Regions from separate parts of the Homo sapiens genome. Here region 1 is linked to region 2. Evidence: promoter capture Hi-C in 16 types of primary human blood cells and fetal thymus (Javierre and others, 2016). All regions are on one chromosome and are shown on one strand. Each heading gives the region's core, a stretch centred on a gene start or on the middle of the fragment in contact. The rest is flanking DNA. Distances are from core to core; before and after follow the strand shown. Region 1 holds the start of CAMTA1-AS1 (CAMTA1 antisense RNA 1). Region 2 holds the start of CAMTA1-AS2 (CAMTA1 antisense RNA 2).

Evidence for each region. The method cuts DNA at HindIII sites, captures the fragments that hold promoters and counts their contacts. A CHiCAGO score of 5 or more calls a contact.
Region 1: the fragment with the promoter of CAMTA1-AS1 here is called in contact with the fragment with the promoter of CAMTA1-AS2 in region 2 in 17 of 17 cell types (neutrophils, activated CD4 T cells, total CD8 T cells and 14 more); the score reaches 15.7 in neutrophils.

What each region holds. Positions count from the first base shown.
Region 1 is chr1:7,439,503-7,443,373 of GRCh38, forward strand. CAMTA1-AS1 (CAMTA1 antisense RNA 1) reads right to left here and starts at 2,115. Exons shown (of 2, transcript NR_187278.1): 1 at 1,586-2,115; 2 at 1,065-1,346. All of the region lies in intron 5 of CAMTA1 (calmodulin binding transcription activator 1), which reads left to right. The HindIII fragment of the contact is 2,325 bases long and covers 1,371-3,695 here.
Region 2 is chr1:7,388,063-7,392,382 of GRCh38, forward strand. It overlaps CAMTA1-AS2 (CAMTA1 antisense RNA 2), which reads right to left and starts at 1,692. Exons shown (of 3, transcript NR_146199.1): 1 at 1,597-1,692; 2 at 1,278-1,377. All of the region lies in intron 5 of CAMTA1 (calmodulin binding transcription activator 1), which reads left to right. RefSeq lists an enhancer at 67-604. The HindIII fragment of the contact is 18,859 bases long and covers 1-4,320 here.

The DNA of each region.
Region 1 (3,871 bases), core at 865-3,364, 52 kb after region 2:
CACCTGCCTGAGTCTGTGTGGGACCCACCACCCATGCAGGACCAGGGCTCCCCACTGAGGACCCTCTGAGCTACTGGTTAACAGGCTCAAGCCTGCGCATGGTACGGCCACCGTCCTACATAGGTCCTGGGATCCAGCCTCCAGAGTGCAGGCCCATAGGCCAGACACCACCTGGGCAGCTTCTCATTCAGGACTGCCCCACTGTGATGATGGGGAGGAACGGAAGTGTGCAGGCCTCTAGGGTGCAGGTCTCTGAGCTCCCCAGGTGCAGATGAAGGGGTGAAGGGAGGGAGAGTGCCGAGCCCAGCCTCCCAGGAGGCAAAGCCTGGGTATCTGAGGCTGTCCAAGGTGCGGAGTGTCGGAGTCACGTGAGCTGCATCTCCAACCTTGGCTTCCTCATTTGCAAAATGAAGAGGCCCCAGTGAGCTCGGAGATCCCTTCACAGAATCATCGCTAGAATTCCGTGAGGCTTTGTTGAGGCCCAGCAGGCCTGTCTCAGTGGCAAGGGAGGCAGGTGGCTCCTGGAACGCAGGCAGCACTGGGCGGGTACCCGCACTGGGCATCCCATGTGCCCCACATCTCTGGCACATTAGCCCATGGCTCAGGTGGCACTGGCCCCGTGGCATAGGCGAGAGGGCAGGCTAGGGACTGCTCCTACCAGTGTGTCTTGGGCTCTGTGCCCACTACCTGGTGGGGAGAGGTGTCCACTTTGTCCACTTCATGGCATGGGAGCCGATGCGGCTTCAATCCTGACTCCGCAGCTGCCTCCTGACCAGTCAGCAATCGGGAGCCCCGACCTCTTCCCTCTCCATCCTCACTGCAGCCTGGGCAGGCCGGAGGCCAATGTCCCCAGGGCAGAGCTGGGACAGTCCCAGTGGGAAGGAGGCCTGGCCGGGCCAGACAGCAGCCTGGGAAGGAGCCGTGTGTTGCCTGGGAGTTCCACGGCACCGGCTGAACCTGCATCTTGAAGGTTTGATTGATTGCGTCGTTCAGAGTGAATATATTTTTTAATAATCGGTTTCCAAAATTAGTCTTTCTCTGTGTAGCAGCTATCACAAACAGCATGAGACGCACTCCTTTTATTTTTTTTTTACCTGCCAGAGGCAGATATTTGTTTTTCCTTCAAGAGAGCAGCAGGTGAAGGTGTGGTCCCCGGATCCCAGCACCTGGAAGCTGCGGTCTGGTCCTGCCTGCTTGGAGCCTGTGGGCCGAGAAAGACAGGGGCAGAGGCAGCCTGACCAAACCTCCTCTTGCTCCCACTCTCCGTGGCTTGCGGGCCAAGCGACATCAGCTCTGCACCCCTCGGTTTCCTTAGCCGATGGCGATGGTTTGATTACTTCATCACACTGTTTTGGGATTAAGACAGGACAAGCTTAGTGCACACATTATAGCTGCTCAGTGCCCATTCAGTAACTGGTAGCTTGGTCCTCCTACCTCGTGCCCTTGCGGTAGCTCTGGGAAGCCAACTCTGTCTCCATTTGACTGGTCCTACAGGTGCGGGTTTTAAACCCTACGTCACCCACATCTCCTTTTGGACATCACAAAACTCCTGAGGTGCCCAGCCCACTTACCCCCAAGTGCTCACCTTCTGTGAGCTCCTGAGCTTCTTCACCAGCTGAGATTTTTCCTTGTGGAGTTTTCTACTTCTGTTGTTTGTAATTCAAACTAATAAGTTCTTCCTGCATTTGAAAAATGAAAACATGGTGTAATATTGAATGTTGCTGTTCAAACTGCTCCCCACACCCAGCATTTTGCAATGTCCCCCAGGGGCACACACCCTTGATGCTTGACTGAAAAACTACCATACCAGTGACTGTCTGTATCTCATTGGCCTGAGAAATTAAAAGCTGCTACTGTGTTACATTAAGTGTCTGCTGTACGCACCGCCCTGGGCTGGGCCAGTCCTGGGGGATAAAGAACAGTATCAGAAAGATACTCAGACAGAGCTGTCTCTGTGGTGGAGGAGATGAGAGCTAAGAGAAGTGAAAATGCAGAGCCGAGGCCAGGCCATCCCGCAGTGTCCACTGGTGCAGGGGTGGGCTGCGGGTCGCGAGCCACGGGAGCTTGCAAAAGGGAAGGGCATGGCTTGAAGTCAGCTTCCCGGAAGAGGAAGAGGCGGTCCTTGGCTGATGGCAGAATTTGCATGGGCTGATAGGAAGGGACGGCTTCAAGGTTGAGTTGGCTAACAACTCGAGCCAAGGCCCAGAGGTGGGGATGAGTTTGCTGCCAAAGGGGACGGCTGGCAGGAAGCTACTCAGTGTGCTTGTTCGTCTCGCTCATTAATTGGGCACAAAGAGCAGCAAATCCCATCCCCATCCCGAGGCCCTGCAGCATGGTAGGATCATGCCCACTTCTCCCTGCTCTTAGACCAACGTGGGTTCTGCCTCCCCTGCCCAAAGCGTAGGCGCAGACTCTGGGTGGAATCAAGGTGCAAAGGAGGCCTCGATTCCGGCGGTTTCAGAGGGCTGCTCCCTGCGTAAGTCATCCACCCATCCTCTTGTTACCCCACCTCTGGCTTCTGGGGGCCCCAGGACTTCCCCAGCGCTGTCCTCAGCCCTGAAACCTCCATGGGGTTTCCATGGAGAAGTGCTGACAATTTTGTTTCTACTCTCCCAGTTCTTCCTGAAATTCATCTGCATCAAAGTGAGATCCCTTATGCTCAGCGCTCAGCAAGGCTGTGGTGATTAAGCACTTAAATTGATTAATCAAATTTCCTGTGATGAGAACTACTGTCATTCATTAATCTGAGCGGGATTATAAATAAGAGATGGCAGATACAGGAGACAACCGTGTTGACAGATGGACACGGTGGCCTGAATCACAAGTAGGTGCCTGCTTCCTGGGGGCTTTCGCTGTGGGCAGCTGGGGACGGAGCTTCCCTAAAGACAAAATTATTCGGAGATTGAAGTATCCCCATTTTAATAACGAAATATGCATAGATGAGCAGGCAGCCGGTACAGGGAGCACGTAGGTTCGCATACCAATGGCCCGGTTGTATTCATGGAGGTGGTAGCAGCAGCTCCAAGAGATAAAGAATCTGCTAGAAAAAGAGGCCAAAGCAAAGTGGCACACGGGTTGAGAATATGGGTTTGAGGGTCAGAGCAGCCCTGGGTGCAAATCCTGCCTCCATGGTTTACTCAACGCGTGACTTGGCTGAGGTTCTCAATCTCCCAGAGCCTCCATTCCCTCACTGGCAAAATGCGGATGCTGATAATCCTGATTCCACTGGGTTGTTGTTAAGAGTAAATGAGACAATATCTATGAGGCACTTTTTATCTAGTTTACAAACATTTATTGAGCACCTACTGTATGTCAGTACTGTGCTGGTATTTAGAGATTGGCAAGGAATAAAGCAAGCATGGTCCCTGCCCCCAGAGCTGGTGTTCTTATGGAGAAGGCAGACACTGAGACTCAAGGGCTATGACACAGTGCTACTGCCCTGGCCTTCCCAGATGCCACATTCTCTGTTGACCTCCTGGACTCAGGATGTCCTTTCCATCCCTGTCTTTGAACACTTCTTCCTGCCTGTGGTCTCTCCTTGCCCCTGCGCAGATCCTCCTCCTGACTTCTTGGCCTCATTCACTCCAACAGAACTGTCCCTCCCAGCTCAAGTATACTGTGTCTCTACCCAAGTCAAAGCCCTGGATGACGGCTGCAAAGCATAAGGCTTCGGGTTCCCAGCTCAGTCACACATAAGCTTCATACCCTAGACGTGTATGATGATCTGCATGAAGTCCATTTCCCCACTTTCGTGGGGTACAGTCCCCTTGAGGCAGGGACCAGGTCTGTTCTGGTCCCCATCGCATGCTCAGCCCCAGCATCGGGCCTGGCCCATGGCAAGCCTAGCTAGTACTTGTTGAGTTAGTAGATG
Region 2 (4,320 bases), core at 442-2,941:
TTCCAATCTGAGCCCTGTCACTAGCCTTGGGTGGATGATCACTCTAAGGACCAATTTCCTTTTTCATCTGGAAAATGGGGATAGTAGTCCCTTTCTCCGGGGGTCGTTGTGAGAATTAAGTGAAATGACACAGGGCTTTAATGGATGGTGCTGCACCTGTTGTCATGGCCACTGTGGATGTGAGCGGCAGAGCTGCAAACACGCCTTGCTCCTCTGAGGTCAGCCCATGCCGGCTGCCCTTTGGGTGCCAGCCAGGCCGTTGTGCTGCAGGGAAGGGAGGAGAGGAGCCTCTCTTCTGGGTGAGCCAGACAAAAAGGAACCTCTCGTGGCGTTTGTCCCAGCATCCTCTGACCGTGAGCCTTCCGATGTGCCTGCCTGGTATGAACAGAAACGTGGATCCAACCCACACTCCTTCCTGATTTCAAACGTCCCTGTGAATCGGATGGGACGTAGTTAATAGCCCCTGTCTTCCTGGAAGGAAATGTTCAGGGAGGACTGGTGTTGGGAAGCTAGAGGGGAGGCGGCCCGGCCTTGGAGCCCAGCCCTGTTGGTGTTGCTCTCTTTGGCCCTGGTGAACGTCCTGGCCTTGGTCTCCTGAGTCCAGGGGGCCTGGCCAGCAGCCTGCCTTCCTGAGGCCCAAGCCCCTGGTTCTGACTGCTGATGCGCCTCCTGGGAGCGTTCCTGCCCATCTCCACTTGGAGTTACCAGGAACTGAGTTGTTGGTTCTGCTGGCAGCTCCCATCCTGTCCCATGGGGGGTTCAGACACGGAGACCAGTGCTGGAAGGCCCTGAGGCCTCTGAGCCCTCCAGCCAGAGCCAGGGTGTGCCCAGTGCATGCACTGCTGTGTCTGCCTGGGCTGGTCTCCCCACCAGACCGAGCTTCCTGCCGGACTGGGGCAGGGCCCTAACGCTCTGTTGTTACACTCTCCATCCCCGTGCCATTCAGAGCCTCCCAGCACTGAGTAGGCACTGCACGGCGAGAGGGAGGGGGAGGAGGAAGGGAGTCTGGCTCTGTGCCTGTCCCCGGCTGCCTGGCTCTGACTGTCAGAGTCACTCTGCAGCAGCACAGAGCGAGTCCGCTGGGTGCTGTGAGACGACCCTGGAGAGATCCTCCCACCCCCAGCTGTCTCTTCTCTAGCCTGTTGCCCCCAGCTCCATCCCTCCTAACCCTACCCCTTGGCCAGCTCTCTGGGCTCTGGGCTCGGCAGGAGCCTCTTTCCCCCATGGGCTCAGTCAGTGCTCCCCCTGCAGCCCTGCTGGGTCTCCCTGGAGCTCACCATCCGGACTCGGGCTGTGTGGGCACTGGAGTTCTTGATGTCACACACGTCAGCGTGTTCCCTTAGCACTGTGTGAACACGACCCTGTCCCCTGGCCGGCCTGGGAGATGGCAAAAAAGAATGGAGTGGCTCCCTGGCAGGAAGTGCAGGAAGGCAGGGGCACAGCCCCATTGCAGCACCCCTGCCAGCACAGGCCAGCTTCTCCACTGATTTGCCCTTGACTGTTCCCTTAGAAACAGACATGAGTGGCCACAGGCCGAACGAGGCTCCGTGGAGAGAAGTGGGGGCAGGTGGTGGGTGGGTAATTTATCTTACTTACTGTAGGGTGTGGGGGTAGAAAGCCAGGGCTGAAAATCTTGCTTCTCTAGGAGGTGACTAAAGGCCTTCACAGTGGTCTGGACAGGAAAGGGTGGAGTCCAAGCACAGGGTCCCCAGAGGAGTGTGGTGAGGCCGAGGGAGGAGGGACCCAGGCAAGGGAATCTTGGAGGAGAAGGCAGGACAGTTAGCCCAGACTAGGGTGGCCGGGGCAGGCTCTGTGAGGCTGCTGTTGGGGGTCCCGTGGCTGCAGAGAGGTTTGCTTTCCAAGTCAGGGCCACTAGTTTCCCTCGGATGCTATTTGTGTCCCCCGCCTTCCATTGTGATGCTGCACAATAACTTTTACAGCCTGGCCTGGTGCCTGGCCTGCAGCCCTGAATCACTGATTCATCTTTACCTGCCGCTTCCCTGCCGGACGGCTCTGGGTGCAGGAGCCAAGAGCCCGGGCGACGGCGCAGGGCTGGTTCCTTCCCACTTCTGCCCAGTCACTTCCCCACCCTCTGAGGACCCTGGAGAAATTCAGCCAGGGCCTGGGCCTCTAGGAGCTGCCAAGCCTCCCTCTCTTAAGCAAAGCGAGCTTAGGGTTCACAGGGCCAGAGCAAGAGGGTGACACAACCCGCCCAGGGTGCCTGCCTTCTCTAAGCATCTGACACAGCTCAGGGACCTGCTGTCCTCAGGCTCATTCCAGGTGGGTGCCTTGGCCCTGGGCCTCAGACCAGCCTCCCCTCAGAGCTCTATCTGGACCCTTGTGATGGATGCCATTACTTGTCTGACATGTCCCCAAAGGAGCCCGCAGATCCCACTGCCAACGCCAGTACCAGTGCACGGCCCAGGATTGGCCCTGCTGCTTACTACTCCTGAGCCCCTGCAAGTGAGTTCTGCTCTCTGGGCCTCAGTTTCCTCCTGTCTACAACAGGGTCGCTAGTAGTGCCTGTGGCAGTAGGGTTGCTGTTCAGACACCCAGGCTGTGAAAAGTTCCTGGAAGGGACCCCACCCTACAGAAAGCACTCAGTACCAAAGAAAGCCTCATGGGTGTAAATGAATCTGCTCCACTCTGCAAAGAAAAAGAGCACCTCTCCCCCACATGCATTCCTACGGGGCTTGCAGCCCTGGTGCCCTCACTGGCTGCCATTGAGAGCCTGTGCTCTGCACCGCCCGCCAGGTGTGCCAGGGTGACGTGACTCCACACCAAGCACTGGGGGCTGGACTTGTTTAGCCATTTCTCTCAAGATGGCCATTTCTACACTTTCATGAGAAGGAGGCCTCGCCTCCGTTGGAGTGGCTGAGTGGTGCATCCAGCTGGTTCCTGGGACTGGGGACAGGTTTTAGTGCTCCGAGAATCTGGGTTGTTGTTTTTTTTTTTATGGAGTTTTGCTCTTGTTGCCCGGGCTGGAGTGCAGTGACGCGATCTCGGCTCACCGCAACCCCCACCTCCCAGGTTCAAGTGATTCTCCTGCCTCAGCCTCCCGAGTAGCCGGGATTACAGGCATGTGCCACCATGCTGGGCTAATTTTGTATTTTTAGTAGAGATGGGGTTTCTCCATGTTGGTCAGGCTGGTCTCCAACTCCTGACCTCAGGTGATCTGCCCACCTCGGCCTCCCAAAGTGCTGGGATTACAGGCATGAGCTACCACACCCGGCTGTATCTGGATGTTTTATGCATCCCTTTACACAGTGTGTGTGTGTGTGTGTGTGTGTGTGTGTACATCTTCAGCTGATCCTTCAAAGTCTGTGGGTTTTATTGTCATCCCCTTTTTATAGATTAGGAAGCTGCTGCTCAGACGGATTAAATCATTTGGCCCAGGTCATATGGCTAAGGGGCGCTTGGTGTCCCGCACTTCTGGAGATACAATTAACATATGGTAAAAATTCCGACTTTCTGTGGCCATTCTGAGAGCTTTGGCAAATGTATGTGGTTTCCATCAGCTTGGTCCAGTGATCACCACCACAATCAATATGGAGATGGTTTCTATCAGCTCAAAAACTCACTGCACCTCTTTGTCAGATAAGCTGCTCGGCGTACTCCAGCCTCTGGGAATGAATGGCCTGTTTTCAGTCCCTATAGCATTGCCTTTTCCAGAATGTCATATAAATGAAATCATACAGGATGTGGCCTTTTGAGTCTGGCTTCTTTCGCCAGACATAATGATCCTGAGATTTATCCATGTAGTTGCATGTATCAGTACTTCCTTCCTTTTTATGGGTGAGTGGTGTTCCATGGTGTGGATATACAGCAATTTGTTTAACCATTCACCTATTGAAGGATGTCTGGGCTGTTTCCAGTTGACATTACATGCCAAGGACTCTACACATTTGCATACAGGTTTTGGTGTCATCATACATTTTTATTTCTCTTGGGAAAATATATAGAGGTAAGATTGCCAGGTCGTATAGTAAATCTGTTTAACTTAATGAGAAACTACCCAACTGTGTTCCAAAGAGACTACTACTTTGCATTCCCATCAGGAATATATAAGAGTTTTAGTTGGCTGGGCACTGTGGCTCATGCCTGTAATTCCAACACTTTGGGAGGCCAAGGTGAGAGGATTGCTTGAGGCCAGGAGTTTGAGACCCTCCAAACCTCAACATGGTGAGACCCCCATCTTTTTTTTTTTTTTTTGAGTCAGTTTTGCTCTTGTTACCCAGGCTGGAACGCAATGGTGCAATCTCAGCTCACCGCAACCTCCACCTCCCAGGTTCAAGTGATTCTCCTGCCTCAGCCTCAGGA